Regions from separate parts of the Homo sapiens genome. Here region 1 is linked to region 2. Evidence: promoter capture Hi-C in 16 types of primary human blood cells and fetal thymus (Javierre and others, 2016). All regions are on one chromosome and are shown on one strand. Each heading gives the region's core, a stretch centred on a gene start or on the middle of the fragment in contact. The rest is flanking DNA. Distances are from core to core; before and after follow the strand shown. Region 1 overlaps DHX36 (DEAH-box helicase 36). Region 2 holds the start of GFM1 (G elongation factor mitochondrial 1).

Region 1 (6,516 bases), core at 500-2,999, 4.3 Mb before region 2:
TGGCTCACGCCTGTAATCCCAGCACTTTGGGAAGCCGAGGCAGGCAGATCATGAGGTCAGGAGTTTGAGACCAGCCTGGCCAGCAAGGTGAAATCCCGTCTCTACTAAAAATACAAAAAGTTAGCTGGGCATAGTGGCACACGCCTGTAGTCCCAGCTACTTGGGAGGTTAAGGCAGGAGAATTGGTGGAGGTTGTGGTGAGCCGAGATCGTGCCACGGCACTCCAGCCTGGGTGACAGAGCAAGACTCCATCTCAAAAAAAAAAAAGGAAATAATTAAAATATATATATATATATATATATATATATATATATATATATATATATATAAAATAAATAAAGAACTGTCTTTGGTAATCTAGTATTATATTATTGCCATGTTTGTTATGGTCAGGTAATTCTTACCAATACCATAAAAATAACAGTCAATGTGAAGACTGAAATGAATTCTAGTCATTTAAAATAACAAAAGCTACCACACTTATCTTACCTTGTAATAACTTACTTATCTTGTAATAATTTTTAAATTATCTAAAAACTATTTTTAATGACATAAGTATTAACACCCCAGGTAGTCAAATGTTACCATCTTAACACATAATTATACACAAGCTATCCCACTGCATTTCAAACTGGCATTAATCGTATTTGCTTTATACATGTAAATGCCACTGGAAAGAGAGGTATAGTCCAATATTCTTTCCCAAGGCAGCCAAAGTTTCTACTTTGTTAACTTTTGACCATAACGAAGATGTGAGATAATTCAACTATAAGCTCTCTGAGGACAGGAAATATCTTATTACTCTTCAAAAACAGTAATAAGCATAACTGGCTGGTGTGGCTCACTCCCATAATTACAGAATTTGGGGAGGTGGAGGTAGGAGGATTGCTTGAGCCCAGGAGTTCAAGACCAGCCTGGGCAACAAAGCAAAACCCTGTCTCTACAAAAAATACAAAAATTAACCAGGCGTACTGGCACATGCCTGTAGTGCCAGCTACTCAGGAGGCTAAGGTGGAAGGATCACTTGAGCCCAGGAGGTCGAGGCTGCAGTGAGCCATGATGGCACCACTGTACTCTAGCCTGGGTGACAGAGTGAGACCCTGTCTTAAATATATATATATACATACACGCACACATATATAGCACAGTAACTGGCATCCAGTAAGTAGAAAATTAATGTTTATTAAAGAACATAAAGAAAAAATATTGCACATGCTAAAAATGATTAAAAAGCTGAGTTGTTAAACACAGCTGAATTTTAGATCTGATTCTGTTATGAGCTATGCAACCTCAGGTAGGTCACTTAAATCTTTTTCCTCATCTACAACAGACATGTAGTCTCTTATTCAAGGTTGTTGAGAAGCTTAAATAATATAGTACACATGAAGCATTTATGACAACATATGGGAAATAGGAAGACCACCAACTTTTTAAATGTTTTACACATTTTTCTTTCTCTGAACTAGATCAATCACCCATCTTTAGTATATGAGTTCTGTCCATCATATACAGCAAAGAGAAAGACACTAATTCCTCCTGTTAAGGCTGTTAAAGCAGCTCTTCTCAACCAGAAGATTCTCAATTAATTCATCCTGAAATTTCCTCCATTTTCAAATCACATTTTTACCCAACAGGCATCAAAGAGCTACACAATTTGGCCCTGGACAACCTCAGCTTATCTATTCTAATACGGAAATCCAACTGTCATCAGTAACAGTCAATGGATCCTTTCTTTCCTATTAAGGAAATTCAGCTTTCATCAGTGAGCCAAGGGATCCTTTCTTTCCTATAGGAGGTGCTATATCCTTCCTTTATCAAAGACAGCAGTATGTATTTACATATTAAAGATATGGCCCTCAGAGTTTCCTCAGTAATTTCTCTTAAACATATACATACATACATGAGACCACTTTATTACATCTCTAGAACACCCACAAATCACACAATTTTATGTTTTAACTGAAAGGGACCTTAAAATATCTTGCCTAGCATAGAAAGAAAATATCAGAATTCAGGAGATCTCAGGTGTTGTGATAGTCCTGTATTTAAAATGTTAGTGAACAAAGCACATCACATAATTTTTGAAATATTTAATTTTATCATCTATAAAAAGAAGATGTATTAAGTAATCTGGAACAAGCTTTACAATTTTAACTGCCTTTACTGCACATGGCACCTCACTAAACTGGCCTAGAAAAGCTGAAGAGTAAGTTTTTTTTTCATTGGCACTAGCATTTCTCAAACATTTCTTCTCACCACATAAGCTTCTGTGGATGAGATAGGATACTGTAGGTTATGTGTAACTTCCATTCCCACTGCTTTTCTCTACCATTCGAAAAGAAATTAATTCCCACAGGGATGTCTTGTTGAGGATCTCACTGATCTATGCCATGCAGCTACCTCTAACCATACATACATTTTTATAAAGTGTAAGAAAAAAATGACAAAATATTTTTTGACATCTTTCTACTACCTGCATTTCAATATACCGAAGGTCATTTTTTTTCTTTTGTAAATCTTCCAATAATTTTTGGTCTAAAGTTCCATCTGGTTCATTTTCTTGCAAGAGATACTCAGAATCTCGGTCAATATATGATCTGTTCCTGATTCTAAACATTTTTTTTTCTTGATTTATCAACTTCTTTTCCTGGATGTCAAGTTTGTTCTCTGAGCATGGTGTGTTCTTAGTAGAAACTTCAGTACCGTATCTGTTTTGACAAAATAAGAAAGGAAGAAAGGTCAGATGAGCCACTCAAACACTGGAACAAAACAAAACAAAACAATACGCTGTTGAAATATTTCAAAGTCATCCAAATCCAAAGCTTTTCTTTTCTCTTAGTACAGTAATTATGAAAATATACTTAGATTCTTATAATAAATTCAAATTTTTCTTCCCTTTAAATAGATATTGCCAGATTAAGTTATTCCTTGTGATAGTTAAAAATAAAAATCCACAGAATAGTCATTCCTTCACTGCGGTTACTTACAGTGTTTCTCTTTTTCTGGATTTCTCGAACTTGTTTTATGTCACAACATCTTTTTTTCTTGCCACCCTTTCTGAGCTACAAATAGGATGCTACAATACACAGTCTTTGAAATACTTGTACTAATTTTTCCTCTAAATGATACAGTTCTTGTAATCTTTCTAAAACGGTAGCAATTTCACTTCTTGCAGATCTCCCAGACAGAATAATTTCATAAATACAAAGAGGACAGGTAGGGAGAACAATAAATAACAACTTAATACATCTCATATCCAGATACACTATTATTCATACCATTTAGCTTTCCTATGGAAACATGCCATCTAAATTTTTAAAAGTCATTTTCTAAATCTGTTTAATCTACATAAGGAAAAAAAGTACGTAAAGGTTAAAATTCACTTATCGAAGAAAATAAAGATGTTATTTTTATTATTAAAGTGTTACTCTTTGCCTATTCTTTAAAAAAATATTTCTTGTCGTACCCATGATCCTCAGGAGCAAACCAGGATATCTGTGCTTCTGACTCTTTATCATTCTTCGCTTGAACAGAATTCAGTAACTGTACAATTTGTTCTTCTCGTCGTTCATCCATGTGTACTACAGCTCTCTAGTTTGTGCAAAGAAAAAAGCATCCTTGTCAACATAAGAAAGCATATGCAAAAATTATTTGATACTGAAGAAAATAAAGGCTAAGTAATATATGTTCAACAAATACATATAAAAGAAAGTTATCCACAGGTGTCCTCTAGCCCAATACCCCCCTTCCTAGACCTAATTAATTGTTAAAATTTTCGTACATATCCTTCTAGACCTTTTCCAACAAGCATTTATAAAATTAGCCCTAATATGATTGGCAAAGAAAGCTCATTTATGTCTCTTCCTACAACTCTGGTTCTCTTACCCCAAACCCTCACATACTAATTATTATGAATTTCTCCTTATCTTAAAATTTCAAAGTTATTAAAACTCAAATGGTTTACGAAAAAAGTTGAAAACTGGAAATAGTTTGGTTGTAATGAACATTTGAAAGTTCTTACACTAAACAGAAGAATAAATTGGTAAGTAAGGCTGAGCTCAGAAGGAGTAAATAAAATTCATCAGTGCTTATAAGGTGATCCAATGTGGCAAATGACGCAGTTGCTTCAAAGAATGAGAATAAAACACAACAGACTGGACAAATATAAAGGTCCTTGGTGAACTATGAAACTTTGCAGAAACTTTACGCATCTAAGAAATGTCCAAGGTGAAAAAAAAAAAAAGAGAATGAATGCCAAAACCCAATTCTTTGGAGACTTTTATATTTAGATATAGTAAGTTGAAAAGTTGAAAAACAGATTCTTCAAAATTTATGGGACTACAAACCTTAGGTTCTAACGTGCATATAAATCCACAGGCAAAAGGAAACACACGCGGAGTGGTGAAAATTAGAGTGTGTTAGGTTAAAGAACCAAAGGAGGAGGAAGGTAAAAGTATAAATGGAAAGAAAACAGTCAAAAATCGAAAGAAAGAAACCACAGGACTTAATGACTATTTGGTGGAAGTTGGGGAGAGACAAAAAGGAAGAAAGAATCAAAGAACTGTTTTCAAATTCAAGGGTGGATCCTGAGAGAGCAGCAGTAAGATGAATCATTAAAAGGAAGCTGCTCTGTGTTACTGTACATTTTTGTGTACATGTGGTGGTGATGGAGGTCACAATAGGATGCTAAGTTTGGATTTTAGGCAATTAAGAACAAAGATGAAATTTCCCGACTTGTAATAATGACTAGGTAGATGAATATATGGAAATTGATCTCTGAGAGGTTTTGTTTTTAGAGTTATGATAGAAATTTTGGAGTGTTCTGCAAAGTTGAAATCACAGAGACACAGGAATTCTCTTAATTTACAAATAATACCACCTCCAAAGATGAGGACAGACGGATGACCAAGTCTGGCATTCACGGGGCCAAGGCAAGAAAATAAGTCAGAGGAGTAATCAAGAGAACAAACAAAAGACTAGGAGCACACAGTGAGAAAACCACTCCTATGAAGTGAAGAAAGGTGTTAAAAAAGGACTCAGAAGTATAAAATGGACGTAAGTAAGGCAGAGAACTGAAAAAATTACTACTGTATCCAACAACTAGGCAGTTGGGAATGATCTTCAAGGTATTTTTGGTTTTTGAGGTTTGGTTTTGATTTTTGGGGAAAAAAGAGGGAAGCAGGAGCTAGGGTAAGGAGACTGATGAAAGCAGACAGCAATGTGTAAAATACTGTAAAATCTAGAGCAATAGATTTCAATTGTTTATTTTTTATAGCAATCCACAGTAAAACTAATGACCCAGTACACACATATACAAGTAATTTCACAAAATACTTCCCTTACTCTGTACAGTGCAACTCTTATCTTCTCTTCACTGTATTCTATCCCAATTAAACAAACACCAAAATAGCTGGTCACAACAAAGTTTAACATAAAGTTTGAAAACCCAGGGTGGGTAGAGGAGTATGTGTCCCAGGAGAACAAGACATAAGCATCTTTAAGACAAGAGACAGGGTTTTGTAAGACATTCTAATTCTAATCAGTATTACATGCTTTGTGAAAGCTCAAATAAGTTTACATGGGTAGGAGGATAACCTAATGTAATAAATATGAGAAATCAGTGATAAAACAACAAACCTGAAGAAGCAAAGCAAATGAACTATATGTTACCTCCTTTTTTGAAGTGAAAATGAGTGGCTAATTTCAGTTGTCAGGACATAAAATGTCTCTACTAAAAGTCCTCTTAAGGTTTTTTGATGTATCTGTTTAGTTAGAATATAACCTATATCTGCTATTCCTACAGTTCTCACTTTTCCATGTTAACTCATTACTCTATATTTTGTTTAGTAAACAATTTCCTAGATTGACATTTCACAATACATTGCCCACTTCCTGCCCGTAACAGCACAAAAGATTATTCTAATTTTATGAGATTTCACGCCCCCGGAAAAGGTGAATTACTGGATAACATAACAGTCTACTGAAAATAAACAGATCTACACAATCTTCCAGTCCAAACTATCACAACAAAATTCATTTTCATTAAAAAGTCAACATCAGTTGGTAGACTTTAAGATACCTTACACAATGCATATGTACCAAGTAAGCATCTGCTAATCAATAAGGAATTAGTTGAATTGTAGTACACCCAGTGGTTAACAGTGGGTAGATCTTTCTGCAAGTATATAAACAGGAAAGATGACCAAAGTATTAAATAAGTCAGTTGTGTAGTAGGATCTTGTTTTTATTACTATTAATTTGAAAAGAGGTTATTCACTCTCCATATCCTATACTTCTTGCAGTGTCTCTGCCAGATATAATTCTGGTACATGGTATGTGCCCCAGAGAAGTCTGTCAATGGAAGGAATGAACAGCTGAATCTTTTACAATGAGCATGTATGATTAGCCCTTGAAAATGTAATTTACACTCTAAATAAAAACATTTGTATTTTTAATGATGTTCTCCCCACAATGAGTTTCTGGATGCTGCAGGTAGCAGAGAACATACCTTAATTC
Region 2 (7,010 bases), core at 4,303-6,802:
TGCCATCCCCATCAAGCTACCAATGACTTTCTTCACAGAATTGGAAAAAACTACTTTAAAGTTCATATGGAACCAAAAAAGAGCCCGCATCGCCAAGTCAATCCTAAGCCAAAAGAACAAAGCTGGAGGCATCACACTACCTGACTTCAAACTATACTACAAGGCTACAGTAACCAAAACAGCATGGTACTGGTACCAAAACAGAGATATAGATCAATGGAACAGAACAGAGCCCTCAGAAATAACGCCGCATACCTACAACTATCTGATCTTTGACAAACCTGAGAAAAACAAGCAATGGGGAAAGGATTCCCTATTTAATAAATGGTGTTGGGAAAACTGGCTAGCCATATGTAGAAAGCTGAAACTGGATCCCTTCCTTACACCTTATACAAAAATCAATTCAAGATGGATTAAAGATTTAAACGTTAGACCTAAAACCATAAAAACCCTAGAAGAAAACCTAGGCATTACCATTCAGGACATAGGCGTGGGCAAGGACTTCATGTCCAAAACACCAAAAGCAATGGCAACAAAAGCCAAAATTGACAAATGGGACCTAATTAAACTAAAGAGCTTCTGCACAGCAAAAGAAACTACCATCAGAGTGAACAGGCAACCTACAACATGGGAGAAAATTTTCGCAACCTACTCATCTGACAAAGGGCTAATATCCAGAATCTACAATGAACTCAAACAAATTTACAAGAAAAAAACAAACAACCCCATCAAAAAGTGGGCGAAGGACATGAACAGACACTTCTCAAAAGAAGACATTTATGCAGCCAAAAAATACATGAAAAAATGCTCATCATCACTGGCCATCAGAGAAATGCAAATCAAAACCACTATGAGATACCATCTCACACCAGTTAGAATGGCAGTCATTAAAAAGTCAGGAAACAACAGGTGCTGGAAAGGATGTGGAGAAATAGGAACACTTTTACACTGTTGGTGGGACTGTAAACTAGTTCAACCATTGTGGAAGTCAGTGTGGCGATTCCTCAGGTATCTAGAACTAGAAATACCATTTGACCCAGCCATCCCATTACTGGGTATATACCCAAATGACTATAAATCATGCTGCTATAAAGACACATGCACACGTATGTTTATTGCGGCATTATTCACAATAGCAAAGACTTGGAACCAACCCAAATGTCCAACAATGATAGACTGGATTAAGAAAATGTGGCACATATACACCATGGAATACTATGCAACCATAAAAAATGATGAGTTCATGTCCTTTGTAGGGACATGGATGAAATTGGAAACCATCATTCTCAGTAAACTATCGCAAGAACAAAAAACCAAACACCGCATATTCTCACTCATAGGTGGGAATTGAACAATGAGATCACATGGTCACAGGAAGGGGAATATCACACTCTGGGGACTGTGGTGGGGTGGGGGGAGGGGGGAGGGGTAGCATTGGGAGATATACCTAATGCTAGATGACGAGTTAGTGGGTGCAGCGCACCAGCATGGCACATGTATACATATGTAACTAACCTGCACAATGTGCACATGTACCCTAAAACTTAAAGTATAATTAAAAAAAAAAAAAGAAATCTGTGGAATGACTCTCATAACTCAGAAACTCTGGCCAGTGATCCACCTTTAAAAAGCTATCTCATTTCTGTGTATAAGAAGGTGTGTGTGCTCTGTGTGCATCTCCTCACGGAGCTGTGTGAACAGATGTGAGTTAAGGGCACGTACTTTAATGTGGTTGATAATTTTAATCACATCCTGCAAAACGTTAAGTTCATTTGATACTTTCTGGCTAGCTAGCATTTCTCTATGGACGACTCAGTGTGTAGACTCACATTCAGAAGCAACCTCTTTGACCCGAATAGTGAAACCAGAAAGCTGTCCAGTCATGGCAGCTGCTCTGTCGGTCCATAAACTGACACAAAATAACCAATTCAGTTTTGCTATGTAATCATTCAAAGACTTGACTAGTTCTGCCGCTGTGGTGTTGGTTGGCAACAAAAGTGCACATAACATATCCTCATGCACATCCACCTGAAAAATCACACAAAAACAAGCATTGTTGACTTGTTGTCAACCTCAGTAAATTAATCAACCTGGATTTTGTACCAGAGTGACCCATTAATCCTTTCTTTTCTTTTTTTTTTTTGAGATTGAGTCTCGATCTGTCACCCAAGCTGGAGTGCAGTGGCATGATCTTGGCTCACTGCAACCTCCGCCTCACGGGTTCAAGTGATTCTCCTGCCTCAGCCTCCTGAGTAGCTGGGATTACAGGCGCATGCCACCATGCCTGGCAGATTTTTGTATTTTTAGTAGAGATGGGGTTTTACCATGTTGGTCAGGCTGGTCTTGAACTCCTGACCTTGTGATGCGCCCGCCTCGGCCTCCCAAAGTGCTGGGATTATAGGCATGAGCCACTGCACCCAGCCCCATTAATCCTTTCTAGTAATTGTGCCTCGATATCCTCTGCTATTTCATCATTTCCTCTAATTATGGTGCTAGCCCAAAGAGGCACACGTGCCACCTTTTGAACTGCAGCATCTCCTAAAAGTTCATGACAAATGTCCTTAGCAGCAGGCAGGTTCAATTCTCCAGTAGTAAAGAGCTTCTTAGCTTAGCAATGCTGTTAGCCACTAAGAATGACACTGTCAATGCAGACACATTTGATGGAAGTGGCGGCCTTCAATAATTGCTTCTGTTCTTCGTGTCCACATTTTTTCTTTTGAAAAACTCCAAAGGCTTCTCTTTTTATGTAGGGTGCTTGGTCTCCATGTGGCGAAGCAGTTTTGAAGGTTTCATGGGTTTGTTGGATAGCCGCTTGCCACATATTATATAAAGCAGGCTTGGAGAATGTGAATCACCTGTTGCAGTGAACCTGCAATTTAAGTAGGACTCTAGGTATTTTCTTTCACATGCAGCTTTCCTTTTATTAGCAGTCTTAGAGTTTTCCATTTTCTCATCATTGGGTCTTTCCCCATTTTCAAAGAAGCTCTCCAGTGACATTTGTTTTTTACTCGTTTTGGCTAGAGTTAGGTTGTGGGCTTACCAAAACTGTGACTGAGGCAAGTGCTCAGTGTGGGAAGGAAGCGCGGACGGAAGTGGTAAATAAAATAATGGGCGGGCCACGCAAGACTTTAAAGCCTGCCATCAGATGCAACTGTACAACTGAAATACATCAACTCACTTGCCACTATAAAGCTTGCCACCAGTGCAGCTTTTGTCACTTGACACTCACTGACAGGGTTTTGATATGAATCTGCAAGCAATTGATTTATTATGGTCTCTGTGCAGTCAAACCTCTTTGCTAATGTTAATCTGTATTTGCAGCTGTTCCCCAGCCCTAGCGGCCACACCTTAGCTCCACCTCAGGTCATCAGGCATTAGATTCTCATAAGGAGTGCGTAACCCAGATCCCTTGAATGGATAGTTCACAAGGGGGTTCACACTCCCATGAGAATCTAATGCCACTGCTAATCTGACAGGAGGCAGAGCTCAGGTGGTAATACAAGTGATAAGGAGAGGGTGTAAATACAGATGAAACTTCACTCGCTCGCCCACTGCTTACCTCCTACTGTGTGGCCTGGTTCCTAACAGGCCATGGACTGATACTGGTCTCTGGCCCAGAGGTTGGGGACTCCTGTGTTAGAACATGTAGATGCCAAGTACCTGTGCCAACCACAGGTCCACCTTTGCATACTTGACCTTACCAGTATTTTATGAATATATATGTACAGCTCCCATGTTACCAGTGAAGGGTCTTGACTATGAGTCATACAGGTTCTTGGCGTTTGAACAAAGAATTGGACAAAACACATAAGCAAAGCAATGAAAGAATGGAGCAATGAAGGCACAGATGTGTTGAAACAAAAGTACACTCCACAGCTCAAGAGCACCTGTTACAGAATTTTCTGGGATTTAAATACCCTCTAGAGCGTTCCCATTGGTTACACCCTATGTAAATGAAGGAGTGGCCCATAACCAGCCTGCTTGGTTGCAGGAGGTGACCAATCAGAGGCTGAAGTGAAGTTACAAAGTTACACATGAGGACTTGGCCTGCTACCAGTCTGATTATTTGCCAGAGGGGACCAGTCAGAGGTACTTTCCATTTTTTCATCTGCAATGCAGTGCATTGGGAGTAGCCTCCGATCCTTTTGTTACTTGGGCATGGAGAGGTGGGGTTTTCCTTTTGGTTCAGCTCTAGGAAGTCAGCAGGGCCTTCGGTTCCCTGTCTCTAGACCCTGTTCTCCTGCCTCACCCATAAAGGGAATTCCCTAGAGATACTAAAGGCTGTCTGTCTCTCTTCTGAGCAGCCCACTCTGCCTCTCAGAGTGTACTTTTGGTTTACAATAAACTTTTTTGCCTACTCTTACTTTGTACTTGCTTTCAAATTCTTTTGTGTGGTGAAGTCAAGCACCTGAACCGGCCCACTGACAACAGCAAGGATAGAAGCAGTGAGATCGGTTACAAGGCTATTACAATAGTTCCCTCCAGAAACGGCAGTACTGAGAGGTGGGGAGAAGTAAGTTCTGGATTTTCTTTTTTTTTTTTTTTTTTTGAGACTCGCTCTGTCACCCAGGGTGGAGTGCAGTGGCGTGATCTCGGCTCACTGCAAGCTCCGCCTCCTGGGTTCACACCATTCTCCTGCCTCAGCCTCCCGAGTAGCTGGGACTACAGGCGCCCGCCACCGCGCCCGGCTAATTTTTTTTTGTATTTTTAGTAGAGACGGGGTTTCACTGTGTTAGCCAGGATGGTCTCCATCTCATGACCTCGTGATCTGCCCGCCTCGGCCTTCCAAAGTGCTGGGACTACAGGTGTGAGCCACCGCGTCCGGCCCTGGATGTCTTTTTGAAAGTAGAGCTTACAGGATATGCTGACTGATTAGACCGGAGATGTCACAGCATGGTGTCAAAGCGACTAATATTTTTGGCTAGAATCACTAAAGTTTACATTTATGAGATGGATAAGACTGTGGAAGGTTTGGGGAAGAAGATCCGAAGCTCAGTTTTGGACCTGTTAGGTTCAACATGCCTCTTAACACATCCAAGCAGAATGGTCAAGGATGCAGTCTTCCACATGGACAGGACATGAAATGTCTGACATCGAACAATAACAAATAACATTTTGACATGAGGAAAAGTATTTGTAATTGTAATTGATAGTTCATTCACTATAATTTGTCCACGTTCTTTTTCAGGCCATGTCATATATATACCTATTAATATTTGTAATAGACAATTTTGCTCTTTTCTACTTAAATTGTTATATACATTTCTCCACATTGCTTTATAGGCCTAACAACCATGTTTAAATTCTGTATCTTCATACAGAGGTAATATTTAAAAAAGAAGACGAAGACAAAAGGACTCCCTTCCCTCACCCATATACCTATGCCGTCTTACTGGGAGCAAACACTTCTTTAGCTCCGCAAAGCGATTGCACTTTCTCTTCCAAGTCGGCAGACGGCGCGCGAGCAGCGTAGGCACTGCTCCGCCTCCAATCCAGTTGCTCTTCTTTCTTTTCCTCACTCTCTTTTTCCTCGCGTCCTTTGCCCCGGAAGTGCTCTTACAACATTGGCTGCCGGCGTGACTTTGACCGCTTCCCGGTGCGTTACCGGCAGCTGAACCCACCCGGCGCCACGGGACTTTGACGCGTGCTCTGCGCTTGCCATGAGACTCCTGGGAGCTGCAGCCGTCGCGGCTCTGGGGCGCGGAAGGGCCCCCGCCTCCCTAGGCTGGCAGAGGAAGCAGGTACCGGAGCATAGAGAGGCTAAATCGGGACCATTCCCGGAACCTTGTGATCCCTTCTGGGCAATGGAAGGCCGTGACACCCCCTGGGTCCTCATGACTGACAGCTCCGAATACTGGCAGTCGCTCGTCAGTGCTGAAAAGCACCTCGGTGCCTGCACATTAGCTCGTTAGCTCGTTTGTTTCGCTCTCTGGTATCCCTAGGGTTTAATCAACTAAAAGTGTCTGTCACTCAGATACTTTGATATTTTATCCACCTTTTCTAAGGTTTTTTTTTTTTTTTTTTGCCTCTCTTTTCCCGTGAATAATTGTGCATTTTGGATGTGCAGTCCTATAGGGAAAGGTTTATATTGTATCTTCATTCCATCTAATAGGGATCCCCATCCCCTGCCACCAGAGTAAAGTTAAAACAAGCTTCATGAATTGTTTTTGTTTGGAGGGAATTGGAAATCTTTGGGGGCTGTCTTGGAGCTACTAGCATCACTGCATAGAGCATATAAGTTCTCAAACATATTTGTCATCTGTGAACTACAATAAAGGAGAAAGGGAAAAAAATTAAGTTAAATTTAAGCTAAAATTTGTATTTTCTATTAAAGTATTTTTTGGAGCTGTCTTTGTGATTTTATCTGCCCCAGTGTGTATTTTCAAATCTGCAGTAAAAAGTGTCTCCCATTTTAATTAAATTTAACTTATTCATTAATTAATTTTAAAAGAATACGTCTTTACTGTCTTGTTTTGAAGTCTGTCCTCTGATTACAAGAGTTCCAGGCTTAAAGGTTTCCCCTGGTGCCTTTCTCAAGCTATCTCATATCCAGTGAGATTTCTTGGAGGAATAATGTCCACCATACTCCTTTTAATTGTCTGTTGTTCTCTCTTATAAAAGGTGCATAGAATTGAGCTCTCGTATTTTTTTCAGGTTAATTGGAAGGCCTGCCGATGGTCTTCATCAGGGGTGATTCCTAATGAAAAAATACGAAATATTGGAATCTCAGCTCACATTGATTCTGGGAAAACTACATTAACAGAACGAGTCCTTTACTACACTGGCAGAATTGCAAAGATGCATGAGGTATATATTCACGGTTGATTCCGGATTAATTAGAACCAGATTTTAATTGTTTTGTTGCTATTATTTAATAAAGCTTATAAACCTGAAAGATTAAAACAATGGTAACAGCGGACTTTTGACAGTTAGGCTTATCTGAAAGTTGCTTAAGTTAAGTATCTGTGTTCTGGTTTTATTTTTATTTTTTATAGAAGAGGTCTCACTTT

The links. The method cuts DNA at HindIII sites, captures the fragments that hold promoters and counts their contacts. A CHiCAGO score of 5 or more calls a contact.
Region 1: a contact is called between a fragment that was not itself captured here and the fragment with the promoter of GFM1 in region 2, in 1 of 17 cell types (naive B cells). The highest score is 5.3, in naive B cells.

What each region holds. Positions count from the first base shown.
Region 1 is chr3:154,312,573-154,319,088 of GRCh38, forward strand. DHX36 (DEAH-box helicase 36) reads right to left here. Exons shown (of 25, transcript NM_020865.3): 2 at 3,467-3,591; 3 at 2,474-2,708. Among named protein-coding and RNA genes, the nearest start is that of DHX36, 8.7 kb to the right of the region's middle. The HindIII fragment of the contact is 777 bases long and covers 1,362-2,138 here.
Region 2 is chr3:158,638,975-158,645,984 of GRCh38, forward strand. It overlaps GFM1 (G elongation factor mitochondrial 1), which reads left to right and starts at 5,553. Exons shown (of 18, transcript NM_024996.7): 1 at 5,553-5,741; 2 at 6,655-6,807. The coding sequence starts at 5,661. The HindIII fragment of the contact is 2,960 bases long and covers 3,191-6,150 here.